Regions from separate parts of the Homo sapiens genome. Here region 2 is linked to region 1. The links are contacts of gene promoters, found by promoter capture Hi-C in human tissues and cell types (Jung and others, 2019). All regions are on one chromosome and are shown on one strand. Each heading gives the region's core, a stretch centred on a gene start or on the middle of the fragment in contact. The rest is flanking DNA. Distances are from core to core; before and after follow the strand shown. Region 1 holds the start of TMEM74 (transmembrane protein 74). Region 2 has its middle 79 kb from the start of TRHR.

Region 1 (7,406 bases), core at 4,783-7,282:
ATCAATCAAGAGTGAATGTGGAAGAAAAGCATTGGGCAAGAGTTGGGAAAGGAGATAGCAGAAGAGTGCACAGAAGGCTACCTGTTATTGATTTTGCCTCATGTGAAATACCTCTCTCTGGAGACTTACTGTTAAGGAACTGGTAGCAAACCCACATATCTGCAAAAGCTAAGTAGTAGGAGAACTGAGCCAGATATAAGTTAAGGGTGAGAACTATGAAAATCTGGATACTTTATGTCCCATCTACAGAGTGCAAAACCTACTAAGCTCTAGTTAATTGTTAACATACAAAAGTGAGGTCCACGTTTCAGGATTTTTCATATAATTCAAGAGAAACCAGAAATCCAAATAGCTTTCTCAAATCTTCCAAATTTCCAAATTTGATAAATACCTAAATAAATTGTAACAACTCAATGCACCAATAAAACCATGTATTTAGATCAGATTCAACCCATAGCTGTCAACTTGTGTTTTTTACTTAATTAAATTAACATGGACCCTAACAGCAATAGTAGATTAAAAAGAAAATGAAGGTACAAGATTAGGGCCAGTGAATGCAGTCTTGTTTCTAGTAAGTTTAATTATAAAGGAAATCTGTGGCCTAAAGACAACAGGGCCTTTATGCAACCAACAGACCCAAATCCTTCTACCAATGTCCAATATTCTCCCCATATTGTGCTTTCTAAAGGTGTCATAAAGTTTATATACAAAATATTAGACATGAAATGTTTCCATATTTCTTATTTTGAGATATCAGTGCCCAGATTACTTTAAATCCTAATGTTGTAAGCGTTTCGGGAGAATCTGAATAGCATACCTTTGTACACTCCTCACCCTGCCATGCATAGCAAGATGCCAGGTGAAGGTAAGTCAGAGAAAACTATCTTCAGGTTCTTCTTAAGGTAAAACAGAACGCTTAGATTTTGATATAAACCCTTAATGCAGAGATTGCAAATTAGGTGTTTGGAACCTGAATCCACTCCAACAGCTGAATCCAATCCAACAGCTTTTTATCATGAACAACTGCATATAGAAAAGTACATGAAATAAAGAGGGTTACCTCCGATAATTTAGCTCAAAGAGAACACCCTTGTAAACACATCCGGGTCAAGAAATAGTGCCAGGTCTCAGAAGCCTCCCCTTTAGTCTTCTCAGAATCACTACTCTTTTCTTCCCTTACAAAGGCAACCTACCTCTTGACATTTATGGTAACTGCATTCTTGCTTTTCTTTATTGTTTTGCTAACATCTCCAAATACTTTGGTATAGTTTGCCTCTTAACTAACTAAATATCAATGAAATTATGTAATAGAACTGCACATTGTGTATTTTTTAGTGGCTAGCTTCTTTTCTTGAGTTTTATTGTTGTGTTTTTAATATTCATATTTATTAATTTTATCCTGAAGGTACACATGGTGTTGGATCAGAAACAGATGATTTACTTAAGAGCAAATAATGACCATGCGGTCCTCTGGATCCCAATTCTTACCCTTGGCACAACACAGTGAAAGCCAGGTCAGATGTCCTAGGCGTACAAACTTTGAAGTCTGTATCACAGATGAGAAACAAGAGAAAAAAATAATTTAGTGTGTTTACATACAGAAGCAAGAGAAAACTATCTTTTCCACCCCTCCCCAAAAGATAGAAAAAAAAAATCTTTGCTCCTTGGATGCAATAATTTTGGGTTCTCTAAATGTTTCAAATATAAATACATTTCTTCAAAGCCAAATGCAGTGAGTAGGTCTAAATTACCTAGTCTATTACTACGGGAAACAAATGTTCCCAATAATTTTTTTTTTCTCTGACTCATTAAGGGTTTAAAATACATTGAATTTTGAATAACAAATTGTGATATCTGACTTTCATTAATGTCTAAATTCACTTAAGACAAAACTCAGGTAGAACAGTTAGGGGATACTGCCCCTTTTGGGAAAGGCACTTGCTCTTAACTTCGGTAATCTTCCCCATCCCTATTGTCTGTATTCAGCCACTTTATTTAAGTAACATGCCTACTTGGCCACTGTAAGCATTCTTATTAAATGGAAACCTTTCTAATTTAATGCTTTTTTTTGTTCCTAGAATCTTGTTCATTAACAAGATCTTCATTCTCTAAATTATGGTCACCTTCATTCTTAGCACCAGTATGGGGTATAGGACCATATTCCTCATGCTATCCCTATTCAATGACTGATCCTCCCTCCAGCCTATTCCAAAAATGTCTTTCTTACTTCTCTAGGACCCAGCCTCTCATAATAATAACTCCACTAATAATCCCTTAATAGTCCACTAATCAGCCCTTATTATTATTACTGAAGAAAAAGAAACTGGAACACATCCTCAGTAATTATTACAAGAGGCTGGTTGTTAAAAGTCCCAGCACTACCCTTGATTTACATGGTAAATTTACTTCTCAGAATTTTTCTTATTTTTCAACTAGTTAACTTAGTGTAGTAACGATTGCTCCTCTCACATGAAACGGAGTATAAGTAAACAGGAAAATGTGAGACATTAAAATTAGAGTAAGACCAAAATCATTATGTAGATTTCTAGATAACATTTTACAACTGTGAATTGTTTTATCAGCATATATTGAGGAACTACTGTTGCCTATGTGTCGCACTATTTCATGCCCACATATAGCTTCAAAGAAATAGAAAGAATATGTTGGTTCTCAAGGAGCTTAAATTTTATCTGGAGAGATCACATAGAAAGCACTATAAAATATACATGAAATACTTTTCTATATCTAAAATAACAGCATAAAAGAAAGCATATTATGCTACTAGAAAGCCAGTTAGAAAGGTAACGATAAGTTGAGGACGTTGAACAAGAAAGGCTTTTGAAAAAGGTTCTTGGGTCAATTTTCAGGAAAGTTTTAGACATAGACTTATGAGAGAGGGGGAAAGTATTCCAGCAAGTGGCAATTTTTGCAGAGCTTTTATTTTCAAGTGCTCAATTGGTTCATCTCTATTTTTTGTCAGCAGACTTTTAAAGGGGATTTTGTGGTGTTGGTTGGAATTGATATATTTTTAATGCTCAAGAATATGTAGACAGTCAAGTATTATTATAGGTAATCATCTCGAGTCTTCAGTTCAGTCTTGACATCTTCCCTCTCAACAGAAATACTGCACTTTCTGCAGGAGGTAAGGTGTTCAGCATGTAGATGCTGACCTTAAGGAGTTTATGATTGATTACCTTAGAGATTTAGGCACCTAAGTGAGAAGTTAAACCACATGCAGTGGCTACCTAGCCATTCCAGAAATGTCGTAAAGCAGTGGATGATAAATATCAAAAACACCAGTACTGACAAGTCCCAGCAAAGTTCACAGGAGGTGTAATCCTTGGAAGAAAAAGGCTTCAGGGAAAAAAAAAAAGTAACTTAAAATCAGTTCAGCCTGGGAATCACAGAGGTCCTCTAATCCAACTAGATGAATCCCTTCTATGAAATCACTAATAAATGGCTCTCCTTTTTTTTTTTAATCCTCACCAGTACCAGAGAATTTGCTTTCATGAGACATCAATTTAAAAGTTTTAGAAATAATGTCCTTCCTTATACAAAGTCTCAAATCAGCCTCCTTCTTAAATTTAATAGTGCTATCCAGAGCTTCTCAGATCAGTGCTTTGGCATCCTCCAGCACTCCAGTGTGTCACAGGTGTGCTGACTTATTTATTTCCTTAGCCCTCCAAGCTGTCCTGCAGAGACTGAAGTACCCACAGCCCCAGAACTATGGCCATGAGAAACCTCCTGTGTTTATCACATTGCCATAAATAGTATCACCTCTTATGTGTACTCTGCTGTAAAAAAGATTGTGAAGCATTGCTCAGTATAATGTGTTGGCAAAGAGATCAAGTCTCTGGAATCACACAGACCCAAGTTAGAACCTTAGCTCTGCCCGATATTAGTTTTCAGGCCTTGGAAAAGAAACTACATCTTTTCAAGCCTCAATTTCTACATTGCAAAATGGGTGCAATAATACTGCCTCCCTTGTGAAGTTGGTGTAAAAATTAAAGATGATAACATAATAGCACTAACAAAAAAGTATTATTGTTATTTGTTCTGCTTTTACCCTTTTAAATATACTATAGAATTCTTCTTCTATTTTTAGAAACTTCAGAATATTTGAAGCTAGTTTATTGTTTCCTCTCAGTATTCTCCTATGGCTAAATAGCCTAAGTTCCTAAGTTTTTCCTCGTCAACATAAATTCAAGTTCCTTCTACATCTTAGTTTCTCTCTTTATTTCTTTTTGCATATGTAGTACTAAGAACTGGATGCATCCCTGTAGATTTGGCTTGACAAACTAGTCCTTGAAGTGTGGATGGAATAGGGCAGTGGAGGAAAGATATTCATGCTGGAGAACCGTGTAGTAAGCAAAGGAGAAGTCATAATACATCTGTCATGTTTATCAACAAATGGGCCTCACTGGCTACAAATATAATCATATGGGGGAAAAAGAATTTTAAAGAGGGAGCATTGTGAACTCCTGTAATCATGTGACTATAGATTCTATCCAATGTAATGAAATACCAACATAATTGTCATTAAAGGAGATAGATCTCTCTTTTGAAAGCAAGCAACCACAGTATTTATGTGAGCTACAAGCACAATGTCATAATACATACTATAATCCCTAATCCCTTTTTTCTTTTTTTCTTTTTTTTTTTTTTGAGACGGAGTCTTGCTTTGTCGCCAGGCTGGAGTGGTGCAGTGGCACGATCTCTGCTCACTGCAACCTCCGCCTCCGGCTTCAAGCGATTCCCCTGCCTCAGCCTCCTGAGTAGCTGGGAGTACAGGCACGCGCCACCACGCCCGGCTAATTTTTTCTATTTTAGTAGAGACGGGGTTTCACCATGTTGGCCAGGATGGTCTCGATTTTCTGACCTCGTGATCTGCCCGCCTCGGCCTCCCAAATTGCTGGCATTACTGGCGTGAGCCATCGTGCCCAGCCCATCCATACTATAATCCTTTTTTGCTCCCCTAGAATTGTCCCAACAGGATGCTGGAAAACTGGAGATTATCTGCAAGCTACACATACCCTGGGCTTTCAGTGGCTGTTGGCTATTGCAGTCCACTCTGGTTGAAAGAGGCTGGTGACACAGTTACCTTGTCCTATCCTAAGAGTCACAACTCAGAAGATTCAACCTTCAGATTTCCTTTATTCCTGAGCCCTTTTATTCTGGCCTTCTGGTCTTTCTTCCATTCATTCCATATAGCATAACGCTTAGAATCTGTTGGTGTTCATCCCCCCCCCCCCACCTCTGCTAAGTATTAGTTGTGTGACATTGGGCAAATTATTCTACTTTGTAACTCAGTTTTGCCTTCTGTTAAAATGAGGATTTTTTTTTACAGTACTTTAACAATAAATTGTGACCATTAAATGAGATAATGTATCTATAGTGCTTAGAAGAGAGCCTGGCAATAATAAGCGCTATTTATGTTAACTGTTATTTTGAGTCATTATTATTCATACATTCAACGAATACCACTGTGCTAAATACAGGGGATGTGTTGGTACATCGGACAATCTCTTACCCCTTATGGTCATATTTCTTCTGATTTTGTGAGACACGCAATGACTTTCGAATCTGACTCCTGGATGCAATTTCAGAAGCTGCTGTTGGTAACTGTGGATGAGGCACTTACCCTCTCTGAGCCTGTTTCCACATCTGTAAAATGAGGATTAATAAAATCTACTTGGAAGATTTGTTTTGACTATTAAAAAGACAAAATATGCAAATTATCTGGCACATTTGAAGTCGAATATACTTTCCTTTTCACAGTCTTGTGGCCACACCTGAGGCTAGGGAACTCCACTCTAGGCTTAGAAAACAGTGCTGTCTTCTTAAGTGCTGGGGAGGAGTAAGAGGGTATGGCGGGAACTCATCTGCAGGAAGGGTAAAACCCAGAAGGCGTGGGAGGAGACAGAGACAGGAGGGATGCAGGGACCGCCCCTGGCCTACAACTCCCGGGATGCTCCGGGAGCGCCCCGCCCCGCCCCACCCCGCCCGCCGTGGCGGGCGCTGCCCACCCGGCGGAGCCGAGCGGCGTGCAGAGGCTACAAGTGCCGTAGCTGGTGATTGGGGGACTTTCTCCGGGAACCGTGCCGGGAGAGCGCGCGGTGCTGGAGCCGCACCGGGTGGCCGAAGCAGAAGGTGAGTGGCGGGGAGTGGGATGGGGTGGAGGCTTTGAATGCAAGGGTGAGAGCCCTGGAGCCTAGCAGAGCTGGAGCGCATATCCCCGCTCTCTCTCCTTCGTCTCCGAGTACTAGGCGGACACATCCGTACCTCGAATGCCTCAGTGGGCGCAGAGTTCACCAGAAATGGATAGCCGGATTCCTCGGCGCCTGCTGGGGGCACCGCTGCCAGGTGCTTGGGGCTCGCTCTCCCGGCTTTGCTCGCACAGGGCGCATCCAGAGGTCGCCTCCCCGAGATCAGCCTTGCCTGTGTCAGTTTAAAGCAAATATTAATGCTTTTAATTGATGACAGATGGACGAGGGAAAGTGCGTGTCCCCTCGCTTTAAGGTGCAATGTCGTTAACTGGGCTTTTAAGCAGATCAGAGGAAAAAGAGGGAGAGGACGGAAGAAAAGAGTCTTTAGCTGGTCCCCTGGGATTATCCATTCTCCACTGAGAATGGAAACCCCGGATTAGGGAGCTGCAAAGGAAATCGACTGTGCTGCTAGCATACCTCCGGTAGAACAAGCGAACAAGCGGGAGTAGCTTTTCTTTAAAGAGAGGTAGAGGCGGCCGTAGGGAATTAAGTGGGGATTTCTCTCTTCTTTTGTTATAAACTGAAAGTCTCAAAGAACCCTGCTGATTTTATCCAAGGTAGGCTAGTGTGATGAGTTAATGGTACCAAAGGTTAATCAGAGCCCCTAATGCCTGAGAAAACTGGAAGAAGAGTTATCGGTAATTGATGAAGCCTGTTACCATCACTTCATTCATTGAGGGATCCTTTAGTGGGGGTTTGTTCTAGTTTAGTAGTGATTCTTTTGCCCTGTTGTTTTTTGCTGTTTTCACTGTAGAGAAACTCCGATAACAGGAGAAAAACGTTTTCTGTTTTGCTTTTTTTGTTTTGTTTTAAACAAACTCTTAGGTGTAGCAGAAAACATGTCAATTCCCTCTCCCATATTTTGAGTTGCCAGGTTGACCTTAGGTGACCCTTGCCTGTGTTTCTGTTACCAGCTTTGGAGCTGTGGATTTTGAATTATAAGAAGCCTCAAGCCGTTGGGTTAAATCAATTATCACCCTGGATTTGGAAGCAAAATAAAAGGAGCCTTTGGTTAAAATCTCTAATGATAGTGGAAAGTGAATTTTTATTCCTTAGAAACATGGCAGAGGCAGAGAAAAGCCGATGGTTTTCTGCTCAAACCAAAGTTCTCTCCCAGAAATGCCCCTTGCTGCAGTCGGG
Region 2 (6,601 bases), core at 2,797-5,296, 380 kb before region 1:
TGTCATTAAGCTGTAGTGTTTTGCAACAACATGTCTTTCATTATGAATATTATAAATATCTGAAAAATTGCTCATTTTAGAAAAGGAGTTTTTAGCTTTTAATGTTTCTTGACAATGCTTTCTTCAATATTCTCTCCTCAAATTCTCCCTCGGGGGCAAGACATTCTTTGAAAAGGGTCTAAGGAAAGGAAAAGGTGAAGGCTGCCACTGTATATCTAATTTTAAAACATTTTCACAAGCGTCAGTATACCCCATTTCTAATGTTACATGCTTCAGTTTTGTTAGAAATACGGATAAGACAGAGAAAAAGGGAAGACAGGGTCTTGATATATCAACAAAGGAGGCTTTCCTGCATACATTACATTAATTACCTTTTGCTGATGCCCTAGATATTTTTATACCCTGGGATAATGGCATAATTAGATTCCAGATGAGTCATGGGGATGTCTTTCTTCTGTAAAATGGGAGAAGAGTCATTTTGAAAGGGAAAGTGGGGATGATAATCTACCTGATGATGGGAAAAAGGGCATATGAAAGTCAAGAATCTGAAAATGAATGCTCTTAAAATTATAGCCAGTGTGACTACTACATCTATACCTGACCCATCCCAAATCTAGCTTTTTTTTCTGCCACAGAAATATTGTTATTTTGCCATTGCTTTCTCAGTATGATATTCAAACTCTGCTCTATTGCCTTCTTTGTATAACTTCATCTTTGAAAGAGAAAGAACAAAAGAACCACTTTTAGTTATATCTGTCCTTGAAAGATAATGTTCATGACTTCACAATCAAGGTCTCTAGCAATATTGTGTACCAATACCAAGATACCAATGCCAACTGGAAATGGCAACAAACCAAATTATGGTACTAAGATAATGACTATATTTGAGTACATCTTCTTTAAAAAAATACAAAATACATGTACATAATAGAAAACAAGAAAATATAGTAAGAAAGAAGGAGATAAATACATTCATTTAGAAATAACTTGTGAACACTTTTGGAGTACCTATTTATCAATCAATCATCTTTTTATCTGTCCTTTATTGTGTCAATAAATCCATCTATATTTGAAATTATACAGTGTAAACTGTTTTGTAATTTAATTTTAACTCTACCACACATTAAGAACATCTTTCTATGTTGATAAATGTACATCTACAACATAATTTTTAATGGCTGTAGAATGTTCCATTGTATGATTGAATCACAATTTAATCAATCTAGTACAGTTGAATAAGTTGTTTTCAATTTTTTCATAACTATAAACAAATATGTGATTAATACCTACATAGCTAGATCTTTTAATACCCTGTTAGTTATTTCCTTGGAAGTTTTTTTCTAGAAAAGGTATTTCTGTGTTAAAATTGAAATCTTTGGATACATAATCTCCAGAATGGTTATATCAATATATACTCCTAGAAGAAACATATGAGTCTCTTTAGAGGGTTATATAGTTTACTTGAGAAAAGTTAATACACCCAGCTTTGGTAGGGAGTGTGTATTAAAGTTAAGAGAGTGTTTGAGTAACATACTTCTTTATGTATGTGTAAATAATCTATTTAGAAGAAAAGAAAAATTATAGAGATCTTTGGTTTCCCTGCCTTGCTCAGTAATCTCTTCATAGCTCTTGTATTTATAGGCTTTACAAATAGAGTTTTAAATATCAACTGATTGGTGGCAAACAAATCAAGATAATTATTCTACCACACATGAAGACATGTTTTGCTCTCAGCATCTGTATAGTTTAAAGCTTTGATTAGTTGCTCAAACTGCAGAGTCCTGAAGGTTGGCTTATTTCCTCATTCAAAGAAAGCTTGTTATGTCAGGAAGTTTGGACATCAGGAAATAGCAGAGGCATATTGAGAGAGGCAAACTATACAGCGTAGAGGAAAACTTAGTTTTATATTATTTATTTAAAATCATTATGAGGTTAAAGCACCAGTGTTCCCAGTAAGTCCAGTAGATAGTTATTGCCTGAAAAAAATTCTTGGCGATGATGATGATAAAAATAGGATCTAGAAAGAGGTTGTGACATTTTCTTCACTAACAAGGCATGGAATGAAGACTTAGATTGTCACTAATAGAGAAGTTATAAGTATGACTGAAAGGGACACTATGAAGTAACCAACATGAATTAATAAAAAAGACTGTCTAATGGCATAGGACCAGGGAAGCACATGTGACATAGATGAAAGTTTACTGGACTTGTATTTGGACTTGAGTTATTCATTTTTCCATTCATTTAACCAATATTTATTGAGTATTTACTATATGCCTGAACCCAAACTAGGTAATTGAATACAATGGTGAGCAAAACTGACATAATCTTATTCTCACAGAACATAGAATTTAAGGAGAAAGATGGACATTAAAAAGTGAATACAGTGTTTTTAGTTTCAACATGTACAGATCTTGGAAATCTTCATTTCTGTCTTTAAAACAAGAAAAAATTTGAACAAACTGAACATTAATGACTTTTCTTGGACCCATCAGAGAACTGAGTTCACAGGGTACCATATTTCAATCTGGAAAGAAAGGTAAATTTAGGGAGTTATAGCAGAGATATGCTTAGCTGGAGCAGAAATCAAACTGGTAAGAACATATAAATGATGATGTTGATAATTCTTGACATATGCAAATTTTAAAGAAATTATTTAAAACGTCAGCAGATCCCAGGATGGAATTCAGAATCTAACTGTATTACAAATGTGTGAAACAACCACTGCATTGAAGGTACTGGGGAAAAGAGCACCAACCTAACTGGAAATGAGTGGAATCTATAAGACTAAAGGCAAAAAGAACTGCACATAAGCACTGTACTCTAACTGATAAAGTTGTTTCCCACAGGAGTATGAGGTAACAATTTGATATCACTATATGTGTATATCAGAATTGAAAAACAAAGCAAATGGATGTAAATGGTGGGTTTCTCACTACTGGAATGGGGGGATATAGATAAACAAGAGGAGAATGATTCATGTGGTAATGGATTAGAGTTGGAGATATCAGTATAAGCTCATGTTTAGTCTAATATAAATACTAGCCTGATGAGACTGAGAGTATGGAAGAAGGCCAGTACAGTTTGAGAGGAGAAAGAGTGAGGGTCCATGGTAGGCCAGGCTGCTGAGGCCTGCTTGAGGCAGACCATGCAGGACCTTGTCTGCATGTCAAAGCATTTTCATGTGTATCCTTAGGGCACTGAAAAATCATAGAACGGTTTTAACCAAGGCATTGATGGCATCTTTTTGAAAAGATCTCTAGCTGAAGTATAGAGAATGGATTAAAGGAAGGCATAAATGTATGTAGGTTAGAGCAGTTATGAGGATACCACAGTGGACAATGTCAGAGGCAATGGTGGCTTAGTCCAGGGATGGGGAGTGGGTGAGAGTAAATGGCATTAGAATCTCAGCTCTACCTAACTAGCAGTTTGCATGTGAGTAAGTTACTTGTCCTTATGAAGGAAAATTAAAAACACTTAGGGCAAATTGTTGTCTTACTTAATTTTATAGATTTCAGTCATGGACATCCTACAATCCATGCTAGCATTTATCACATGTGTAGTTAACAATATTTCCCAATTTCATCCCAGCAGTTTAAGCCATTTCTTCTCATTAAAACTCATGTTAAAAGAGAGAGTAATTTGCTAAATATTTTTATATACTTTTTCTTTTACTGGAAAATAGTTATCAAAATATATAAATCTGTATATTTTTGCCTTCCTTTAATTCATATTCTATAAATTTAAAATTGATTAACATTACCTGTCTCAATTTTCTCTCTTGTTAAAAAATATGACATTCAGGACAGATCCAATCATAGTTATCTCTTAAAAATATCAACTTTCTTACAATTAGCAATGTTTGAATGTTGTTTCAAAAACTAATGCTAAAATTGAGTAGTAATTTCCCTAGTCAATAAAGCATCTTACTCTGTTTTGATCATCACATTTCAAAAGAAGTTTTTAGTGCTAAGTCTCAAAAACAATGACATCCTAAAAAACATGACAGTGAGGAAAGGTTAAATGAGTTAAAATTATTTACCTTACATGAAAAGAAAATGAAATCATGATTTTATGACTATTTTCCAGGAAAATAAAAATTATATAAAAAGATTTAGTGAATTATTCTCTTTTCGCATAGGTTTTAATGAGAAGAAATGGCTTACATTGCTGGGAATGAATTGGAAATACTGTTAACTATGCATGTGATAAATACTAGCATGGATCGTAGGATGTTCATGCCTGAAATCTGTAAAACTAGGTAAGACAACAATTTGCCTTAGATGTTTTTAATTTTCCTTCATAAGGACAAGGTGGTTGCAGCAGAAGGCCCCTGGAGGTCTCTTTCAACCCTTTCATTCCATGAGAGAAGGGATTAGTATCTACTGATTCTGACTTGGTGACAGCTGCTTTTATCATGTTCCTTAATCCTTACAGTTATCCTGTGAGGTTGGGTAATTAATACTGCTTTATCCATCTCAAACACTTTTTTCCTTCAATTCTTTCTCCATGCCCTGGAAAGAGCATCTTTTCGGATGTGATGGAAATAACAATTGAGCCTCCAAACTGCTTGTAAATCTTTTTTATGTGTAGCAGTTAAACTGTTTATAGTCACAGACTCAGGTGCAAACACGAAACTTTATTCCTCATTTCTGCTTGGTGGTGAAAAACATCATTTTGCTAAGCTAAGGAAACTCAGTCACTGCCAGTTTAGAGCTCAGGCTCTGTAGCCTCCCTCCTCCCCTTTCTTCCCCTTATCTCCTTGAGAGGTGTCTGGAATTAGGGGAGATTCTGCCCTATGTAACATCATGAAGTGGGTGACATGAAGATCCAAGATCATCTTCTGACCTTGCTTGTCTGTACTGATGGGTGCCTTGTGCTAGCAGGTCCTGAGGCTTCGCATCTCGTACTGCTGCATCTGCTGACAGTGTCATTTCTACCACAGCCTTTAGTTAGCTGGATACCATGGTATGTATTAGCCTTACCTCAGGCATGAGCTTTCTTTTGGCCTACTGTTAATTTCTCTGCCTCTCTTGGAGACCTGAGCGAGGTCTCCCATGTAGCTTTAGATCTGAAGGAGACTTGGAGGGAACGTATCAGGTCCACACCCATTGCTCATCCACTCTCTGGTGTTGTTTGAATGCAAGGCTTCTCTTAGAGATATGCATTCTCTTTGGGCTAAACTTTGGAAAGAAAGGCTATATCCTCTCCACCCTAGGATCCCTCTAAACTGATCTGCCACCTGGGATTAAAATAGAGTAGGAAAGTGTGGCAGAAGTTTTCTCAGGTGCTCCACATTCATATCTCTCTTTTGCTTTTCTTTTTAAGTTCTTGTCCTCTTTCTCCATAGCCCATAATGGGTTTTAACCACCTATCTGGGTGTTAAGAAAGATATTCTTGTGCCATCACTCATTCTTCTCTGCTGTATGTTTTGAGTTTTCCAATCTTTGCCTTTAATCAATAAAGCCAAGCTTTTTGAATTCCCCCTAAGTCCACCAGAAACTTCCCACAGAAAAACCAAGTAGCATAAAACTATTATGTCTTTCAAATGCCTGGTTCTTGCACTGGAAAGTCACTACTTTCAAGACATTTTGGAACAAAAATCCCAAAATTTGACACTCTTTTCTTACTGGATTCTTTATATTCTCTCTTCTAGAACAATAAATCTTAGCTTAATGGTCTATGTTTTTGTTTTGCTTTTGTTTTAACTAACTTTGATATTGAAATATACACAGAGGTGTGCAAAAAAAAAATAATAAGCATACAGCTTATTGGCTTACTGCAAAGTGAATACTAGTGATACCATCACCCACATCAAGAAACAGAATTTTACCAGTGCCCTAGGAATCCCTTAGCCCCACTCCTTCCTCAGATACCACTCAACCTTCAAAAGGACCACTGGTCCAATTTCTTTTTTTTTTTTTTTCTTATTTTTTATTTTTGAGAGAGAGTCTCTCTCTTTCGCCCAGGCTGGAGTGCAGTGGTGCAATCTCGGCTCACTGCAAGCTCCACCTCCCCGGTTCATGCCATTCTCCTACCTCAGCCTCCTGAGTAGCTGGAACTACAGGTGCCCGCCACCACGCCTGGCTAATTTTTTGTATTTTTAGTAGAGGTGGGGTTTCACCCTGTTAGCCAGGATGGTCTCGATCTCCTGACCACATGATCTGCCCGTCTTGGCCTCCCAAAGTGCTGGGATTACAGGTGTGAGCCACTGCGCCCAGCCCCAGTTTCTAATACTATGGATTAATTTTACCTGCTTTTGAATTGTATGTAAATAAAATCATAGAGGATGCATTGTGTTTGACCTGTTTAGCTCAATATTACATTTGTGAGAAGCATTCCTATTGTTGTTGTGTAGCAGCAGTTTGTTCATTTTCATTGCTGTATATTGCATTGTATGATTTTCCACAATGTATTTATCCATTTTATTGTTGATGAATATTTAGGTTGTTTCCAGTTTTTGGCTATTGTAAATAATACTTCTAAAATAACTCTTGTCCATTTCCTTTGGCATACATTGTATGCATTTATGTTAGATAAACTCTTTGGAATGAAAATATTCATCTTTCAATTGCAGTACTTAGTCTAGATACAATATTAT

The links. The method cuts DNA at HindIII sites, captures the fragments that hold promoters and counts their contacts. A contact is called where the count stands out against the background at its distance.
Region 2: a fragment that was not itself captured here is called in contact with the fragment with the promoter of TMEM74 in region 1 in 2 of the 25 tissues and cell types used here (mesendoderm cells and small bowel).

What each region holds. Positions count from the first base shown.
Region 1 is chr8:108,786,220-108,793,625 of GRCh38, reverse strand. TMEM74 (transmembrane protein 74) reads left to right here and starts at 6,032. Exons shown (of 2, transcript NM_153015.3): 1 at 6,032-6,150. RefSeq lists silencers at 5,917-6,096, 6,512-6,806. The HindIII fragment of the contact is 13,104 bases long and covers 1-7,406 here.
Region 2 is chr8:109,162,428-109,169,028 of GRCh38, reverse strand. No RefSeq gene overlaps it. Among named protein-coding and RNA genes, the nearest start is that of TRHR, 79 kb to the right of the region's middle. The HindIII fragment of the contact is 4,524 bases long and covers 1,785-6,308 here.